Linked DNA regions of Homo sapiens: regions 1, 2, 3, 4, 5 and 7 are each linked to region 6. The links are contacts of gene promoters, found by promoter capture Hi-C in blood cells and fetal thymus (Javierre and others, 2016). All regions are on one chromosome and are shown on one strand. The core of a region is centred on a gene start or on the middle of the fragment in contact, and the rest is flanking DNA. Distances in the headings are between cores, read along the strand shown. Region 1 overlaps SHPRH (SNF2 histone linker PHD RING helicase). Region 2 overlaps SHPRH (SNF2 histone linker PHD RING helicase). Region 3 overlaps SHPRH (SNF2 histone linker PHD RING helicase). Region 4 has its middle 9.1 kb from the start of SHPRH. Region 5 overlaps EPM2A-DT (EPM2A divergent transcript). Region 6 holds the start of ADGB (androglobin). Region 7 holds the start of LOC124901420 (a long non-coding RNA gene).

Region 1 (2,700 bases), core at 156-2,655, 700 kb before region 6:
AGAAACTTAAATGCAAAATTACCAACTTTAGAAAATGTAAACTTGTCGCTTGATTTTAATTATGAAGAAAAGTATCATATAAGCTCTCTTGTTCTTCGTAATATCTAGAGGAATCACAAGACAGATGCATGTAATGCATGCAAATTAAACTACATGAGGTTAGAGGAAAAAGAGAAAAAGAATGTGCTAGAGTGAATGTGAGATAAGAGACATGAATCTGCTAAATTTTCATTTGGTCTCTGTGTGTGCCTGAGGTCATACGCCTGTCACTGTGCTGAGCATGATGTAAGGATAACTGTGACCACATGCAGTTCTGCCTGACAGTGACTTTAGAAACTAATCCTTGGGGTGTGAGGCCCCTGTCCATTCAAAAGGTATATCATAGGCAATCTTTTCCTGTACTAAAAAAAAAAAAGAACCTCAAGTTGGGAGATCTTTAAAAAACCAATGGTCTTGTTATATACTGAAAATACCTGCAGTCTCTGCTTTTAAATGTTCACTTTATAATTAATCAAGAACTCAGACCCTGTTTATGTGGCTTATATGGCATGAGACAATAAATGTAAGTAAGCTAGTTAACAGCAGTTTAAATTTGCAACTGTATCCACTACAAAAACCGGAGTAAAATCTTAACATACCTGAAATGTCTTAACACGACTGATTTGTGCAAATTCCATGTTGTTGTCAGTAAGAGCTTTTGAAATAATATCTAATACATCTTGCCACTAGAACACATAAAACAATAAGAAAACCAATATTTACACGTAGCCTTTATCTAAGGGTATCTGAAAAGGAAATAAATCAAAATGACTTTTATACTGGAGTTAAGAAAATAAAACCAAAACCAAAACCCTCAAATGTAGTACCATCCATATTATTTAGCTCTATCTGAAATAGTAATTTTGTTTGTTTTTTTTTTTTTGCATCAAATGCTGGTTTTGAAAATGTAATTAAGATAAACAAACAGTAGAAAATACATAATGGAGTGCATACTGGAATATAGTTACTTAGTTTTCGAAAATGAAAACTAAGGGTTTTACTCAACACTTTATAAAGTAGATTGTCTTTTTCAACCCAAATTTTTGTGAAATGAGACTTTCAAAGTCAGAAATTCCAATTTTAAAAATATTAAACTAAGAAAATCCTTAAATGAAACTAATAAAAAGTCATGAAATATAGCTATACAAATTGCCTTGTGAAACATCATCACATTTCTCTAAAAATAATTCTATCTTCTCTAAAAATAATTCTATCTTATGGATTTGGGAAAAAAAATCTAAGAGTAAACATCAAAAATTAGTTCTCAGCTGTAAACTGATTAGAGAGGGAAAATCAGTTCGAATTAATATTGAGGATGAAAATGTTGATTATACCGTTGAGAAAACGAGTGCTTTGGCCCCTGGATCTCTAAGCTGTATTTTCATCAGAGTTCTGACCACAGCTTCCACTTTTGTAGAATGGCTGCCCTTTGAACACACACACAAAATACACATTACTACTAAAAAATCTAGTTAAGAACAGAATAGAAAAGCAATACAAAGTACTTTTTATTATCAAAACTATAAATGCATCAAAACAAATTATCAGGTGCATATGTGTTTACTCTTTTTCATTTTGTGTTTGCTGGAAATTTTCTTTAGCCTCGAAATGTAGAAGTCATTAAATTTACACCCAGACATTTGAATGTAAAAGCATGCCAGAAAGTCATTAAGTGCTATGACCCTGAACATAGGATCTTTTAGTTAAGTAGTCAGGTTTTATAGTTACAAAATTTTGTTACATTAGATTAGCAGAAATGATATTTTAAAACACTCTTCATTTATTCTCCCTTTCTTCAGATATTATGTCATTAGAAATGTTAAGAATACAATGAATCAAAACTCCCAATGTAAGCAAACAGTGAAGGATCCAACCAATGGAGAATGTTTTCTTGCAAGGGTATTACCAAAAACAATGACAGAGGTACAAATGATGCTCACTTAGAATGAGGCAGATTCATACAAAGCTAGACACTTAAAACTGTGTGTTTTTTTTTTTTTGCATCTTCCATAACCATTTCTATCAGATGAGGATGAAAGTGAAAAAATGATTTTTAAAATGGAGAAATAAGAAAATGAGGAAAATAGTGCAAGTATTTCTGTAGCCCTCAATGAGAAAGTTTTCCTTCTGGAGTGCTCTTGGAGATGGTATGACAGAGAAATTAAGGTTATGGGATTTTGAATGAGACAAATTTAAGTTCAACTCATAGTTCTACAACTCACTAGTTATAGTTTCTAATCCTGTGTTTCCTCATCTATCCAATAGGGCTGAATGATAATTATATCTCTTTCCAAAGGTGGCTGTGATGATTGAATGAGAAAATGTATACGAAGCATTTAGCCTAACATCTGGTAAGGAGTAAACACTCAAGAACTTATTATCTTTCTGAGATATTAAATATGAGCACTATAATGACCTAGATTATACCACAAGGGGGAGCAGATTTAACCAAAAAGAAGGAAAAATATTTCCACAGCAGCATAAACCCTCTCCCTCAATCCTCTCAACACACTTTTACATGAAGAAACATTCAAAGGTAAAAATATAAACAAAACAAGAAAGAAAGCTGTACTAATTTTAAGCCAGCAAGATAGAATAATGGAAAAAGTTTTAAAATCCTCATGCTAAAATCATGATTCTACACTTATTTTCTCTGGGTAT
Region 2 (2,792 bases), core at 192-2,691, 660 kb before region 6:
CGATAGAGAAGTCGAACCCACCAGTGTTTGACACAGTAAGGTTCAATACCAAGAAAGACCACTAACCCAAAAAGATCTGAAAAGAAAAAATAAAATACATTGAGGATAACTCTATTACTTCATTACTAGTTTGCAGAAGCTTTTCTACAGACATTACACAGCACATAGAACTTTCCATGAATTAAAATACAGGCTGTATAGGCTCTTAAATCTGAAATTCAATTCCAATTCCATTTATACTTATTGAGCATCTATTCTGCCCTAGGTTTTGGGCTAGGTGCTAAAATAATGTTAGATTTATGCAACCATTCATTACATACAGCTTATACTTAATTCAAAAATCTGAAACTGTTATCAGAAGTTAAACCAAAAAACCACTCAACTGAATGTACTTGGTAAGACATATATAAGAAATACCATGCTCTGAAACCAATAGATGCAAGATTTGCTGGATTGGAAAAAAGAATTTCTAAGCACACAGATGACATGAAGAATATTCTCTGATGCAATATTTCTCATACCCTTTATCTAATAATTCTCCTAGAAAAGAAGCCTAAGAGAGTAATAAAAATATAGATAAGATTTACTTACACAGTGATATTCATAGCAACAATATGTAGAAAAATGACTCAAATAAATAAATTATAGTAATCCCACAAAATAGAACTATTTTTCTTTTCTGATTCAGCATGCCTTGTATTTGTTAGCTTTAGAGCATGGGACTTCTTGTTTATCTCTTTACTGGGCACAGTCAATTTTATATTCTATTCCCCTCCACCTGCCCACTTAACATACCCTAAACAGTTTTCCATATATTTATTTGTGAGGACTTAATGAAAAACTGCTTTGGATATGAAGTGGAAAAAAAAAAAGGAATATAAAATTGTGCATGCAGAATAAGCTCAAATATATAAACATCTATATAGAAAAGATCTTCAAATGAAGACTATGAGTGTAATTTTGTAATTTTCTTTTTGTTTTTTTGAGACAAGGTCTTGCTGTTGCCCAGGCTCGAGTGCAGTGGCACCATCTTAGCTCACTGCAGCCTCAACTTCCTGGGCTCAAGTGATCCTACCTCAGCCTCCCAAGTAGCTGAGATCATAGGTGTGTGCCACCATGCCTGGCTAATTTTTTTATTTTCTGTAGAGACAGGGCTTCCCTATGTTGCCCAGGCTGATCTTGAACTCCTGGGCTCAAGTGATCCTCCCACCTCAGCCTCCCAAAGTGCTGGGATTACAGGTGTGAGCCACCATGTCCGGGTTGTAATTTTCTTTATACTTTTATGTACAGTTCAAATTTTTTCACAATGGGCATATATTCTCTTCAGAAGCCATAAAATAATAATAAAAATATCCTTCCCACACCTACAACACTTATTCTGAAGATGATCAACAAATATTTAGATTGAATTAAGTTACCTTGATGGTTGCTGGGAGTTAGCAACATCTGAAAGAACCAATGCATCACTGCTATGCAAAGGTCCACAGATTTATATTTTTAGCTCAAATCAATTCAATTGCTATATGTTACCTCTTTTTTGAGGTCCCAAAGCCGTCTCAAACTCAACTTGCCGAAATCTCAAATTCATAATCTTTTTGCACACATGCTTCATCTTTTTTTTTTTTTTTTTTTTTTTGAGACAGAGTCTTGCTCTGTCGCCCAGGCTGGAGGGCAACGGTGCAATCTCAGCTCACTGCAACTTCTGCCTCCCAGGTTCAAGCGATTCTCCTGCCTCAGCCTCCCGACTAGCTGGGATTACAGGCGTCTGCCACCATGTCCAGCTAATTTTTGTATTTTTAGTAGAGACGAGGCTTCATCATGTTGGCCAGGCTGGTCTCAAACTCCTGACCTCAGATGATCCACCCGCCTCAGCCTCCCAAAGTGCTGGGATTAGAAGTGTGAGCCACTGGCCCATGCTTCTTTTCTGGTAGTATTCACTGGGGAAACCAGTCACCATTCATGGATTTATGCAAGTCAGAAATCTTGGTATCTCCTGATCTGTCACTGAGGCTTGTTAATTTTGCCTTATCCACTTTTTTCTGTTATCTTTAGGACAAACCTAGTCCAAATCAAAAGTGCCAGCACCACTTGCCTAGATTACTTCTTATAGACAATCAATTAATATCCTAACATCCACTCTTACCCTCTTCTAAGCCACTCTCCACACTGCAACTAGAGTGATCTTTTGAAATACAAATCTAACCACAAAATGACCCCCAACCACTGTGTTTAAATCGTTTCAATAGCTCCTACTACTCTTAAGAAAAAAAATAAAATTCTTTAACAAGGCAAATAACATCCTCCATGGTCCCATCTCTACCTACCTAGTCTCTCTATCCACCATCATCTCCCTAGCTCTTTACATTCTAGCCACGCTATTTCTGCCACATGATCTATTTACATTAATATTTTCTGTTTCCTCTACAATAGAGGATTTTTCCTTTTCCTCTTTACCTAGCTCATGTTAATGTTTCAGATCACAGCTCAGTTGTCAGCATCCCAATTGTATGATGTTATAGAACAAACTATTTTTTTAATGAAACCTGTTATAGTTAGAATTTTCCTTTTTTTCATTTGTGAAAGTTATCTCAATTGCAATTTAATATTTATCTAAGTATTTAAGAAACATTTTAAGAAATGTATGTTCTCCTCTAAGCTGTAAGCTCAATAGATAAGGGATCGTATGTACTTTTGCTCATCATCTGCTATGGTTTGAATGTATCCCCCAAAAGTTCACGTGTTAGAAGCTTAAACTCCAGTGAATAATATTAGGAGGTGGGGCCTAATTATAT
Region 3 (2,700 bases), core at 4-2,503, 640 kb before region 6:
AAACGATCTCCCTGGGTGAATTAAATGCTATACTAAATATTAAAGAATAACCAGGAATTACCAGGGAAGGGGAAGGGAACAACTCAAGCAGAAGGAACTATAAGAACAAAAGCAAAGACGCAGAAAGTCAGTGTGGTATATGGAGAAAATAAATCAATTTGGAGTTTCTGGGACAAAATAAAAAGCAGAGTAATAAAGGGTAAGGCTCAAGGGCTTGTCAAGGGAGGAACTTGTGTGCCAGATTAGAAAGATTATACTTAATTCTGTAGGCAGTAATGGGTAGAATTTCATTTGCATTCAATCATACAATTCCAGAGACAAAATCGAAGCATTTGAAAAGGCAAAATAGCAAACAGATAAATGGTTAAATGACTGCTGCAGTAAGAGGAACTGATGATGAGGACCAAAACAAGTCACTGAAAGTAGAGATGGAAGATCTTGAAAAAGTGTAGCCTGAAAATGATTAGTTGTAACATACTTTGAATAGTTATTAAAAGCTTAAAGTGTACTTTGAAACTTAACAATGAAAGGCTTATTGCTGGCTTTTCAGACTTCTCTCACAAGTTAATTTAAAATTGGACTGCCAATGTAGAAGAGCCTCAAAAAAGACACCACAAAAAACTGAGTACCTTGATAATGTGATTTCCTTCTGGTTTCTGATAGAGTTTTATTCTTCTCTTCTTTTGTAGCCACCCCAAATCTTCTAACATTTCACCACTGAAGGATGACTCCACCAGAATACCCTTGTCACAAATACTCATCGGTTCTTTTTTTTGTTTCTCTACATCTTCACCTTTTGAATGAACATAAATCAGGAACTGATTGCTTGACTCTGAACTCATCAATGTAATACTCCTTTCGGAAAAATTTTCAATTAAACTCTGTGCAGGAAGAAGCTGAAGAGTTAATTCTCCTAGAAATGCTTTCCAGGAATTATCAAAATGATAGGGAGAAATCACAATATTTAACTTTACAGACAAAGGGGAAAAAATACCAACAGTCTCTTCTTTTTCAATTGGTTTTGAGAAGCTCACCACTTTTGAACACCTCTTCTTATCTCTGTGAGCCACTTCTTCCTTTAGACTATCACTTAGAATGATATAATGAGCAGAAGAGGTATCTGAACCTGGGCAGGGCTGCTCGTCATCATCACTTATGATGATAGGTTCATTCCTTCTGTCCTCATGCATATTCCAATGAAGCTGCTGCCTCTTTTCCTCATCTACCCTCACTGGAGGAGCACGTTTCCGTCGGCTGCTCATTTTCAAGTTTTCTTGGCTGGTAACTGTGAACTCTAGAGGACAAATGAAACAACAGGAGGTATAACAAGAGATGATTTAGTATTTAAGGGTTACCAGATGAGAAATTCAGCATAAATTCATAGCCCATAAACATAATATGAAATCTTCTGTGAGATATAAGGCAATGAGTAATTTTTTTACCAGGTCATTATGACTAAGGAATGAACATATTAACCATAATCTCATTTATCAAATAAATTCTAATGGTTTTGCTAGTCTTTAATAGTAAAGGCAATTTGTTGTATAAAATAAAATAAATTGTAGAAATACATTTAATAAGCAATATAATAGGAAGGTAAATCTCTCAATCCCAAGTAATTTAACTGCCCCTCAGAACAAAGCCCAACAATACTTAAAAGAGCGAAACAAAATCCAACACAAATGTCTGGCATCAAATCTAAAATTATCAGGCACGCAAAAAAAATGAAAATAAAACAGAAAAATAAGACCCATTACAAGAAAAAAATCAAAAAGCCCCAGAAAAGACACAGATGATATAATTAGCAGAAACAAACATTCAAACAGCTACTGTAAATATTCTCAATATGTTAAAGGTAGAGGAAAACATGAATATGACAAAGAAAAATGATAGATATACAAGTGACTCCTATAGAATTTATGCAGATGGAAATGCAACATCTAAAACGAAAAACACATTGTATGAGATTACCAGCAGATTAGAAATGGCAAAGAAAAAAAGAAGCAGAATAAGCTTAAACAATGGAAACAACAGTAACAACAGAAACTGTCAAAAATGAAGTAGAGATAAACAAAGACTGAAAAAACAATAAATAGAACATCAGAAACCTACTAGACAATGTTAAGGAGTCAAACATGCATAAAACTGGAATCTCAGCAGCAAAGAATGGAAAGGATACAAAAAACTTTTTGAAAAAATCATGCATGAAAATTTTCCAACTTCTATAAAAACCATCAACTCAGAAAACCAAGAAGCTCAATGAAACCCAATCAGGGCAAACATAAAGAACAATCACAATAAGGTATGCCATAATTAAATTACTGAAAAGTGAGGACTTCTCTCCAGATTGGCCCTATTTCTCTGGTTTAGACACTGCTCCCACCCCACAGCTCTAAACCCAGCAAAATATCTTTCAAAAATGAAGGTGAAAAAAAGATCAACAAAAGCCAAAAGGACTTATCACCTGTATACCTACAATCTAAGTAATGTAAGAAGCGCTTGGGTAGAAGAAATATGACATCAGATGGAAATCTGGATCCACACACAAGGAAATAAAAAGCAAAAACAAAAAATATGTGTATAAATATAGTAAACTTTTTTCTTGATTTTTAAATTTCTGTAAAAGATAACTTACTATACTTTCATTCTGAAAATTTTCAAGCATACATAAAAATTTAGAAAATAGTATAACAGTATAAT
Region 4 (2,700 bases), core at 18-2,517, 630 kb before region 6:
TTCCTCTTTTCCTAATTGAATACCCTTTATTTCCTTCTCCTGCCTGATTGCCCTGGCCAGAACTTCCAACTCTACGTTGAATAGGAGTGGTGAGAGAGGGCACCCCTGTCTTGTGCCAGTTTTCAAAGGGAATGCTTCCAGTTTTTGCCCATTCAGTATGATACTGGCTGTGGGCTGGTCATAGATAACTCTTATTATTTTGAGATACGTCCCATCAATACCTAATTTATTGAGAGTTTTTAGCATGAAGAGTTGTTGAATTTTGTTAAAGGCCTTTTCTGCATCTATTGAGATAATCATGTGATTTTTGTCGTTGGTTCTGTTTATATGCTCGATTACATTTATTGATTTGCATATGTTGAACCAGCCTTGCATCCCAGGGATGAAGCCCATGTGATCATGGTGGATAAGCTTTTTGATGTGCTGCCCGATTCAGTTTGCCAGTATTTTATTGAGGATATTTGCATCGATGTTCAACAGGGATATTGGTCTAAAATTCTCTTTTTTTGTTGTGTCTCTGCCAGAAATCTTACTCATAATAATCTTAACATAAAATGATGCTTGCCAGAAAATGAAGAACCTTTCCAAAGCTTCCGTCCACTAGCAGGGCAGCGCCATGCTCTGACTTCCACATTTGTGTGTTGTTTAGGTCACCTTGGGACAATGACAAAATTAGATCTGAATTCCATTTCCTTTAAGCCCTGTTAAATTTCTGAACTCCTCATTAGGCCTTTAAATAAATTTAAATTCTTAAATATTTTTAAATACCACACAATAATAGTATATAATTACTAATTATGTTATTTTGTCTGTTTGTTCATTTGTTTTTTAGGATGGGGTCTCACTCTGTCTCCCAGGCTGGAGTGCAGTGGCGCAATCTCAGGTCACAGCAACCTCCGCCCCCTGGTTTCAAGCGATTCTCTTGCCTCAGCCTCCTGAATAGCTGGGCTTGCAGGTGCGTACCACCACACCTGGCTAATTTTTATATCTTTTAGCAGAGACAGGGTTTTGCTATGTTGGCCAGGCTGGTCTCGAACTCCCAACCTCAAGTGATCTGCCTGCCTGGGCCTCCCAAAGTGCTGGGATTATAGGCGTGAGCCACTGCACCCGGCCTAATTATGTTCTTATGCCATAACACCCCCATGTTGACTATGAGCTCCTGGGAGTTCATTTTTAAAAAATTAACCAAACCATCCAACCATCTCAGGTAACTCCAGTGAAACCAATACAGAGACAGATGTTTGGGAACCACTTGAGCAGATAATCTCCAGCTTATGAACTAATTGATTCCTGGTTGGCTAAAAAACTGAGCTTATGTAAATCAAACCCTTATTTCTTGTAGCCACAGTGTTATAAACTGGGACTTCATTCCTGGAAATCTGTTTCATACCTTTAACATACCAAAAGTGTCATGAAAATAAATAGAAAAAAACCTCCACAAATACAGGTGTTAACAACCGTATCTTAAGTACATGAAACAAAACTCCTAATTGGAAAATATATCCTAAATAATGTTTTGAGAAAATTTTCAGCATTGATTAAAATGCCTGAAGTGTCTTAAAACATGATTTCAAAGAAGTTGGGACTGAAGATGCCTTTTTTGAAAAATAAATATTTCAGAAATGAGTATTTTTAGATATTCTTCATGTTCCCAAATACTATTGAATTACCTTAAAATTTGGAGACCTCTGAATTACTCAGCCTTTTGAGTAATTGTTATTTTAATGAAGTCTTCTCTAGCTATATAATATGGTTCTCTATTTTTTGACAGTACTGATTTTTTGAAATGATATTTCTCTTGTCCAGAAGGAGAAGAATGTAGCTAAGAAGACAAATTAAAATGTAATTGTCCAATGGGTTCAAACAGAATGAATTGACAAGGAAAACAATTCACCAGTTGTGTTGTGCTGATGGGAATCACTTTTCTGGATGGGTCAGACAACGTAAAGCTTTCTAATTTTCCCAAATGATAATAAAGAGATTTGGGTGCCTCAATTATTTCCCTCCTTTCCTGTGGGGTACTGTAAATATAATAGTTGTGAGTTCATGAAGTAAAGGTGAGTTGCAGAAGTACAGACCAAAGGAGTTTCCTTTGGATTCACATCATTTAGGGCTCTTTTTTTTCGCTTACAAATAGAAAAAGCATACAGAGGCCGGGTGCAGTGGCTCACGCTTGTAATCCCAGCACTTTGGGAGGCTGAGGAAGGCAGATCATGAGCTCAGGAGTTTGAGACCAGCCTAGCCAATATGGTGAAACCCTGTCTCTACTAAAAATACAAAAAAACCTAGCTGGGCATGGTGGTGCGCACCTGTAGTCCCAGCTACTCGGGAGGCTGAGGCAGGAGAATCACTTGAACCCAGGAGGTGGAGGTTGCAGTGAGCCGAGATTGGGCCACTGCACTCCAGCCTGGACAATAGAGGGAGACTCCGTCTCAAAAAAAAAAAAAAAAAAAAAAAGAAAGAAAGAAAGAAAAAGAAAAAGGATACAGAATCAGACCCTTGTCCAAGACACTGAAATTTAATGGGGAAAATCATAAAGACAAATTTTATCACAGTGGTTATATATTCTGCAATACATGGGGTGAGTATTGAGTATTTCCTAGCCAAGGGCATAGTTCTCAAATTTCTAGTAGAATGAATCAGACTCTGCAGACAGGTTAAAAATCTTTGTCCCAACACTTACTAGCTGCATTTCTTTGG
Region 5 (2,746 bases), core at 96-2,595, 760 kb before region 6:
TCATTTCCACTTCTAGTTTTTGCCCCCATGTTTGTTTTTCCTTATTTATTCTCATAGAATTTGTAGTTTATGATTTATTGGCATATTTTATTTGTAGCTTATTGCTATATTTTATGTTGCCCAAGATCTTAAATCTCTTTTGAAATAAGATAAAGTATTGATAAATAAAGTTTAATCCATCAATTAAACAAAACATATTCTATTGTATAGAAGAATCTGACAGTTGTTAGTCTGCACTTTTAAAAGCCACTGAGACAAGACAATCTTGGGAAGAATATTTATTATTTGTCTACTAACCACCCCTGCCTCCTTCTGAAAAAAAAGCAACTCATTCTTCTGGAAACTACTCCTCCTTCCACTGCAACTCTGCCTCCTAGAAATGTTGAGGACTCTAAGGATGGGTAACCAAACCAAGCCATTCAAATCACGGGCATTCCTTGGGTTGTTTTTGTTGTTTGTTGGGGAGTTGGTGTGGTGTGTGTTAGGCAATCTTGTCCTGTGATGGAATTGAGATGTAAAACTTAGGAACTGTCAGTGATCATATTTCCTGCCATGAAGAGAAAGACTGACTCAGTGTGAGACAAAGTTGGCACAGAGGGGAGGCGGGGAAGAGAGAGAGAAAGAATGTAAGTGAGAGAGAGAAAGTAAATGAAAGAGAAACCTGGCATCATTCAAGTTCCTGACACATTCAGTTCCTGAGACCCAACTCAGTGCTTTCTTTCACATGGTTTGGATATTCACTGCTTCTTTAGATTTTGGGAGATAACAAATTCCTCTTTCTCAATATGGGTTCAAATTGAGTTTCTATCACTTTCAAGCAGGAGTCCTTAATGATAGATGCTGCTTTCAAGCTTTATTGTGAAAAATTTTGGCCCTAATCCTCATCAGCCCCAGTCTACTTTTGTGCAAGGATATAATTTACTCGTCAACTTGGGAAGTCTGTATCTGGCTCTAATTTTCATTTGAAAGAAAACCAGTTTTTCCTCTTAATGATATGGTATATAAAACATCTGAAGTTTGTTTTGGAAAATACTAATATTGCAAGCATTTTTCAGTTAACTCAAACTCAAGTGTTTTGCTCTCTTGATTGTGTCAAAAGTTGGACTTGGACAGTGGTTTCTGGAGATACGGGAACATGATAACTAGCATTTTCCACATTGTTTTACTCTATCTCCATACCAAATCAATAGAAATCTACATGTCTGGATGAGTAGAATGGAAAGAATGTGACTTTAGACCATGAAGATCCAGATTCATGTCTTAGCTTTACATGACCAAGATCCTCAATCTCTCACAGTTCCCCTAGGAAACTTCTAGAAGAACAGTAATATGTACCTCCCAACATTGTTAGGGAAAAAATATGTAAAGCCCTAATACGGCATCAACATATAATAGTGGGAGTTATTGTCACTTTATTGGCTCACTATAGAAAGACCTTTCAAAAACTTTAACAATTTGCCTTCAGCTTTTATTCAGAATTCATACCCTCCCCAACACCCACAAGCTGTATTTATGTATCTTCATCCTTTGTACTATTATTAATTACCTAATCCTCTTTACAGAAATATCCTTACACTATACTCCCTCTTAGAATTTTGTCCTAGAAGAATAAAGACGTTTCTAAATTGCTCGTTTTCTTTTTATGTTGATAAAAGCATGTGAACTCATCCTGTTCTCCCTCATCTTCTTTCTTTTTCCCTTTGACTATCAGTAAAAATAGAGCTAAATTTAATGCTCAGTTGCATAAAACTAGATTAAACTACCTACTTATTACCTCCTTAATTATTTAAAAACATTATTGTATTCTTTCATTGGTTATGTTGTATGTGTGACTTCAAGTAAGCTTACATTATTCTTGGGAGTAGGCATCAGTGTATAAATAATAAATGCAATAAAGGCCTACACTATTTTAGCAACCCTCAGATGAAGAATGACTGAGCCAAGAGTGTGAGGGTGGTAGGTCTTGTATTTGATAGTTGTTGGACAAAGTGCTCCGGCTCCCTACAGATCACCCTTCAGGCACCAGTTCTACATTGGCTGCCTCCTATTCTCCCTTCTGGTCAGGCTTTGTGAGAGGCACCCTGTCTTTCAGACTCCATAGTCCATGTAGCCCATTGCCTGCCAGCTATGAAGGAAAACCACAAGGTAAAAACTTCTTCAACTTGAGTCAAAGTGTTCACAGCTAAGGGCAACATCAGACTCAGGGAAGGCTATATCTACTGCTAGACATGCAGTAGACACTGGGAGAATTTATATCTTTCTTAATGATTTGGACTGTCATTAACCTACTCTCTGAGGAAGACTTGACCCCCCTTTGTGTCTTGGTTTTTATGACACCTACACTTGTTTACCCACCATCTTTGTCCATTTGCGTTCTTGTAGCAAAATACCACAGACTGGGTAATTGGAAAGAACAGATACTTTTTTAAAAAAATAGTTATGGAGGCTAAGAAGTCCAAGATCATGGCTCTGGCAGGATTGCTGTCTAGTGAGGGCTGCTGTTTGCCTCCAAGATGGCACTTCACTGTCATGTACTCCAAAGGGGAGGAGTGCTGTGTTCTCATATCAGGGAAGGGACTAAAGGAGGGAAAAGGGCAAATTTCCTCTGTCAAGCCCTTTTAAAAGAGAACCAAATTCCATGAAGGAGGGCAGAGCCCTCATGACTCAGGGACCTCCTAAAGGTCTCAACTCTTAATACTGTTGCATTGAAGATCAAGTTACAACATGAATTTTGGATGGGGAAAAA
Region 6 (2,700 bases), core at 147-2,646:
CAGGGCAGTCTTGTAGTCATAATATTAACACTGCTGACTTGGAATTTATTTATTTTGCATATAGAAATACAACGAAGGGGCTGTCTGTCATCTAGGTAACCCCCAGTAGTAATCCAATAGTAATAAGATTGGGATAGTCTGACAAACCATAGGCTATGCTGAGTGGAGAGCCCTGAGCATTCATTTGTCAGAGAAGTTGAAAGATTTTCTCTGCAGGAAGCTGCCTCTTGCCTGCACAGGTGGAACTGTGAGCATGTGCCCAGTCCCATGAGTGGAGGGGATTTCTTTTATTTAAAGATACTTAACTATTTCTAGGCTCATGAAAGACACCAACCAGTAGTAGTGGTCCTAGGCCTAAGGGCTGTGTGTCAGATATCTCTGAAGTGAGGTTATATTGAACCAACACAATATTTTGTTTTGTTTTGATAAATTTGCAAGCTCTTGCAGTCTAAGCATGTCTCAGTTAAGCATAGTATCCACTACTCTGTATTTACCTGGCCAACTTCATTCATTCACGCTGTCTGCTGCTCCTCGAAACCAGGTGGTCTGTCATCTCTGAAAGAGTGGCTCCTATTTGCTGCGCTTTGCATCTTATCCTCAAAACAGAACTGTGAGTTAGGTATAACTCCTATTTATAAGTGAGTAATAGGCATCTCCTATTTATAAGTGAGTAAACTGAGACTCAAAGGGAAAAACTAGCCCAAGGCAAGATAACTAACAAATCACCACTGATGACTGAGCCTTAAGCCTGCGCCCTAATAAGTTTCATTTTACTTGGTTCTGTCTGTGTCATCTGGCCCCTGGACCTTTTCTGGAAAGTCTGCAAAGGACCACCTGAGCCCATGACTTGGACTCACTCTTTCATTCGAACAACAAGACACCTTATTGGTTTTATTACAGATATCATCACCTAGCCCTCAGCGACTCAAGGTGTCATTATTTTGCCTTCCTTACACCCACTGTGTTAATTTCTGGACCCCAGGTTTTCAAGCCATTGACAATTTCAGCGTGTCTGTAATGTCTCCTTAGTAATTATTGAAGGTACTTGTTATATTTAGCCAAGAGAATAACTGGGGTGGTACTAGGATAACATCTACGTTCAAATAGTTGGATATTCAAGAGTCGATATATGTCTATGGTTCCGAAGGGCAAAGCCAGGCAGTGTAGGTCCTGCAGAACTCCAATTAATCAGGGCTGCCCAGTAATCCTAATGCCAAACCCGTGCCCCAGAACCTCGATTTCTCCCCAGACACCAACTCCAAGTTCCTCCACGGGGATGTGGGATTTCAGTTTATGCTCTTGCGTCCCTCTGCAGCCACAGGCCGCAGAGCCCGCCCCCAGGGCCCCGCCCCCGCTCTCCGGGCGCTGGACGCGGGACGCCGTCTCCTGGCAACGCAGACGCGGAGCCGAGCGCGCCCGCAGGCTCTTTGCTCAGAGCTCAGCCCTACATAGATCGGCTTCTGCCATGGCCTCCAAACAAACCAAAAAGAAAGAGGTGCATCGTATCAACTCGGCGCACGGATCGGATAAATCGAAAGAGTAAGGGACCTCTGCCTGTCCGTCCCTCCCCTGGCCTAGCCCCTCGACCTCACCACTAGTTCTGGGGCTGCCTCCCTGCAGCAAACTGTGCCAGGGCAGAAGTTTAGTGGCCTCCTCGCAGCTTGTCTTCTCTGGTAAACCAGATCCTGGAGGTGCTCGCTCTCATCCTTCTCTCTTGCTTGTCTTGACTCACTTCCTTTCCCAGAGCCCCTGATTTTCTTGCTTTGGGTGTTCAGCTCCCATGGGTGAATCTGCCACCCCTCCTCTTCTTCATAGCCCTCTCAGGCAGTTAGAAAGGCCATAGCTTTCCTAAGAAAGAGGCATATCTCAAATACTTCTGGTTAAAGCCACATCTTCATGGCCCCGGAAATGATACAGACAGCGAGTGACAGACAGACATGGACACATTTCACCTTAATGGTGATTTTCTAGTTTGCATCTGCCCAGTCCAACGACTACGATCTTTAATCAGATATAGTCAGACGTAAAGTGGCTTCTAAACCTTAAAACATTATAAATGTATAGTTCATGTTACTAACATTTACTCTGAGAAAGTAAACAGACCCTCGCTCATGGAATTTTTATGGTGCCTTTGTCCTGGGCTGGTGTTAGGTGTTGTGTCTTAGGATGTACTTCCCCATGATTATTATTTTCTGTGGTCTGTTTCCCTAGGGATATCCAGTTATCCACAGCATAGGATTGGGGCTGTTTGAACTTACACCATTTCTAATGTTCATTCCCACTGTGAGAGAATCCCAGCTGCCCGCCCTGCTTCAGTGGGATCATTCATGTTCTTCATGCTCTGCCTGATGGGGAGGGCGATGCAATCAATCATTTCAAATTGAATTCTTACATCCTTGATGCCTGTTTCTCCATTTCCTTCCCTGGCTGAAGAATTCCACATTGGACTGATCCCTATGATTCACTGATCCCTAGGATTTAAACTCTTTTTCTTTGTGAATTCTTCTCCCAGACTCATTCCCATGTCTGTGAATCTCTAGTCCCTTAGTTCTAACCTCTCTCATAAGCAGGTTTCCAGTTACCCGGCAGATAATCCATTCCTTTTACTAGCTTAAATTTTAGATATTACATATATAAGTAATATTACATATATAATTTTATATAAATATTACATATGTAATTTTAATAGGATTGCTTTAC
Region 7 (2,700 bases), core at 98-2,597, 680 kb before region 6:
TCTCATGGAGTTCCAAAGAGCAACAAGAATGGGAGGGTCATTGCTGTAGCACTTTGTAAACAATCTATCATAATTCACAACAGCTCTTCTTTTCCAATATGTCAATAAAGAGTTGACATTTATATAAATGGTGAGATTATAAATATTTTAGGCCTTGTGGGCCATATGATCTGTGTTGTAACAACTCAATTCCACTAATGTGGCATGAATGCAGCCACAGACAATACGTAAATGAATGAGTGTGACCATATTCCAATAAAACTTTACTTACGAAAAAAGGCAGCGGGCTGAATTTTTCCCATGCATGGTAATTTGCAGATCCTTAAGTTAAAGAAGTTATAAATTTTCCTCTAAGCACTGTCACATATTTTTACTTTCACTCAGTTCAGAGTATTTTCTAATTTCCATTTTGACTTCTTCTTTGACCCATGGGTTATTCAGAAGTATCCTGTCAATTTCTATTAAACTTTTAGGGATTTATCCAGTTATCTTTCCATTACTGATTTCTGGTTTAAATTCCTCTTCAGTCAGAAAACATACTCTCACATACTTTTAAGAGCGGCTTTTTGAATTAGCATAAGGTCTATTTTGATAAATGTTCCACGTACACCTAAAAAATATGTATTCTGAAGCTGTTGGGTGTAATGGTCTGTGTCAGTTGGGTCATATTTGTTCATTAGTGTTCAAATGTTCAATATCCTTACGGACTTTCTTGTCCATTCCTCTGAAGGAATCTTAAAATAGATTAAATTATCTTAAAATAATTACATTATTTTAATAAATTTTATAAATTTTAATAAACTTATAAATAAATTTATAATAAAATATAATTATAAATATATTTTGGCAGAATTATAAATATATAATTATAAATATAAATATTATAATACAATTATAATAAAATAAATTTTAATAAATTTAAATAAATTAAATTAAATCTTAATAATCCTCTGCTTACCTCTTTCCTTTGTGCTACTGACATATATTTTAGTTCTATATAAGTTGTATAACCCATAAGACAGCATTGTTGCTTTTAAATAGTCAATATCCTTGCATATTTATCTACATATTTAAGCTTTTGTTCTTCATTCCTTACTGTAGTTGCATCCTTCAATCTGAAATAATTTTCCTTCCATCCAAAGAAGTTCCTTTAATATTTATTGTGATGTGTGTTTACTGGAGATGAATTCTTCCAGTTTATGTTTGTCTGAAAATATCCTTATTTCACTTTTTTTAAAAAAAGGAAATTTTCTTTAAGTATAGAACTCTAGGTTGGCTGTTTTTTTCTTTTAGCATTTTGAAGATGTTCCAATGTCAACTGGTTACATAGAGAAACTATGGAAAATACCGAAACATCTTTAAAGGTGAAAAGAAAAACATCTCTATGTAGCCACCAGTTTTATTAGTGTTCCTTTGTAAGTATTAAATGTTTTATCTCTCAACTTTTTTTATTTCTATTTTTCATTATTTTTGGTTTCCAGCAGTTTGACTATGATGTATCTAGGCAGTATTTTGTTTTTTTCTTTACTTATTCTGCTTAGTGTTTCTGAACTTCTTGAATCTTTAAGATATTTGTCATAATTTTATGAGTTTTAGAAAATTCTCAGCTATTATCTCTTCAAGCTTCTGTCCTATTCTCTTTTCTTCTTGAACTTCAATTACAAGTATGCTAGATCTATGAAATTACAAGTATGCTAGATCAAACAACTGTGTCTCAAATCTCTTTTGCCCTATTTTGTTCTTTTTCTATCTATGCCACTTCAAATTGGGTATTTTCATTTGTACTGTACTTGAGTTCATGAATCCCATCTTTTTCTGTGTCTGGTCTCCAATGAGTTTTTGATTTCAGATACTGTATTTCTGCAGTTCTATAATGTTCATTTAATCCTACTGTATAGATTCCAGTTCATCTTATGTTGTCCAGTTTTCCTTTTCCTTTCTTTCACATACAGGTTGAGCATTCCAAATCCAAAAATCTGTAATCTAAAACGCTCTAAAATCATAAACTTTTTGAGTGCTGATGCAATGCTCACAGGAAATGCTCACTGGAGCATTTCCAGTTTTGGATTTGAGATGTTCAACCTACATAAAATTGTTGACAGATATTGTTAAAGTGCTTTTAAGAAAAGCTTATATAAATTTATATTTCCATTGGTAATGCATAAAATGTATCCATTCCCTGTCCTTTTTCACCACTGGGGTGTGTAATCATTTAAAAAATCTGTGCCTAATTGTTGGCAGAAAATAGCACCTGTGTAATTTGATTTTCCATCATTATAGATTAAATGCTTTTTCTTTTATTAACAGCCAAATTGGATTTTCTTAGGTAGAATATTTATATCCTTAAAATTTTAGGTTTTAAAAAATATTTTAACATATAAACAATGACGTACAAGATAACTGTCTTTTTATTTTGACTATCATATTTAAAGTATAGAAATCTTACATTTAAAAAACTTATGTTCAGGAATGTTGAGACATTTTTCCTGTTATCTTTTTTTTTTGAGATGGAATCTCGCTCTGTCGCCTAGGCTGGAGTGCAATGGCGCAATCTCAGCTCACTGCAACCTCTGTCTCCCAGGTTCAAGCGATTCTCCTGCCTCAGCCTCCTGGGAACTGGATTACAGGCGTGTGCTACCATTCCAGCTAATTTTTTGTATCTTTAGTAGAGACAGGGTTTCACCATGTTGGCCAGGCTGG

Evidence for each region. Contacts are between HindIII fragments. The CHiCAGO score rates a contact against its expected background, and 5 or more counts as called.
Region 1: a contact is called between a fragment that was not itself captured here and the fragment with the promoter of ADGB in region 6, in 1 of 17 cell types (monocytes). The highest score is 6.7, in monocytes.
Region 2: a contact is called between a fragment that was not itself captured here and the fragment with the promoter of ADGB in region 6, in 1 of 17 cell types (M0 macrophages). The highest score is 6.3, in M0 macrophages.
Region 3: a fragment that was not itself captured here is called in contact with the fragment with the promoter of ADGB in region 6 in 4 of 17 cell types (megakaryocytes, M0 macrophages, M1 macrophages and 1 more); the score reaches 9.1 in megakaryocytes.
Region 4: a fragment that was not itself captured here is called in contact with the fragment with the promoter of ADGB in region 6 in 2 of 17 cell types (monocytes and endothelial precursors); the score reaches 8.9 in monocytes.
Region 5: a contact is called between a fragment that was not itself captured here and the fragment with the promoter of ADGB in region 6, in 2 of 17 cell types (M1 macrophages and M0 macrophages). The highest score is 5.7, in M1 macrophages.
Region 7: a fragment that was not itself captured here is called in contact with the fragment with the promoter of ADGB in region 6 in 1 of 17 cell types (M0 macrophages); the score reaches 5.3 in M0 macrophages.

Annotation. Positions count from the first base shown.
Region 1 is chr6:145,893,512-145,896,211 of GRCh38, forward strand. SHPRH (SNF2 histone linker PHD RING helicase) reads right to left here. Exons shown (of 30, transcript NM_001042683.3): 26 at 1,374-1,466; 27 at 639-725. Among named protein-coding and RNA genes, the nearest start is that of SHPRH, 69 kb to the right of the region's middle. The HindIII fragment of the contact is 3,992 bases long and covers 1-2,700 here.
Region 2 is chr6:145,935,366-145,938,157 of GRCh38, forward strand. SHPRH (SNF2 histone linker PHD RING helicase) reads right to left here. Exons shown (of 30, transcript NM_001042683.3): 12 at 1-76. Among named protein-coding and RNA genes, the nearest start is that of SHPRH, 28 kb to the right of the region's middle. The HindIII fragment of the contact is 2,608 bases long and covers 138-2,745 here.
Region 3 is chr6:145,954,061-145,956,760 of GRCh38, forward strand. It overlaps SHPRH (SNF2 histone linker PHD RING helicase), which reads right to left. Exons shown (of 30, transcript NM_001042683.3): 2 at 630-1,294. The coding sequence starts at 1,262. Among named protein-coding and RNA genes, the nearest start is that of SHPRH, 8.9 kb to the right of the region's middle. The HindIII fragment of the contact is 1,516 bases long and covers 496-2,011 here.
Region 4 is chr6:145,972,083-145,974,782 of GRCh38, forward strand. No RefSeq gene overlaps it. Among named protein-coding and RNA genes, the nearest start is that of SHPRH, 9.1 kb to the left of the region's middle. The HindIII fragment of the contact is 1,359 bases long and covers 589-1,947 here.
Region 5 is chr6:145,835,804-145,838,549 of GRCh38, forward strand. The region is part of intron 2 of EPM2A-DT (EPM2A divergent transcript); the gene reads left to right. Among named protein-coding and RNA genes, the nearest start is that of FBXO30, 22 kb to the left of the region's middle. The HindIII fragment of the contact is 992 bases long and covers 850-1,841 here.
Region 6 is chr6:146,597,576-146,600,275 of GRCh38, forward strand. It overlaps ADGB (androglobin), which reads left to right and starts at 1,397. Exons shown (of 36, transcript NM_024694.4): 1 at 1,397-1,539. The coding sequence starts at 1,466. ADGB-DT (ADGB divergent transcript) reads right to left here and starts at 1,356. Exons shown (of 3, transcript NR_125860.1): 1 at 1,258-1,356; 2 at 495-596. RefSeq lists a silencer at 1,198-1,492. The HindIII fragment of the contact is 3,644 bases long and covers 1-2,700 here.
Region 7 is chr6:145,914,297-145,916,996 of GRCh38, forward strand. All of the region lies in intron 23 of SHPRH (SNF2 histone linker PHD RING helicase), which reads right to left. LOC124901420 (a long non-coding RNA gene) reads left to right here and starts at 1,191. Exons shown (of 2, transcript XR_007059801.1): 1 at 1,191-1,415; 2 at 2,508-2,700. The HindIII fragment of the contact is 548 bases long and covers 1,074-1,621 here.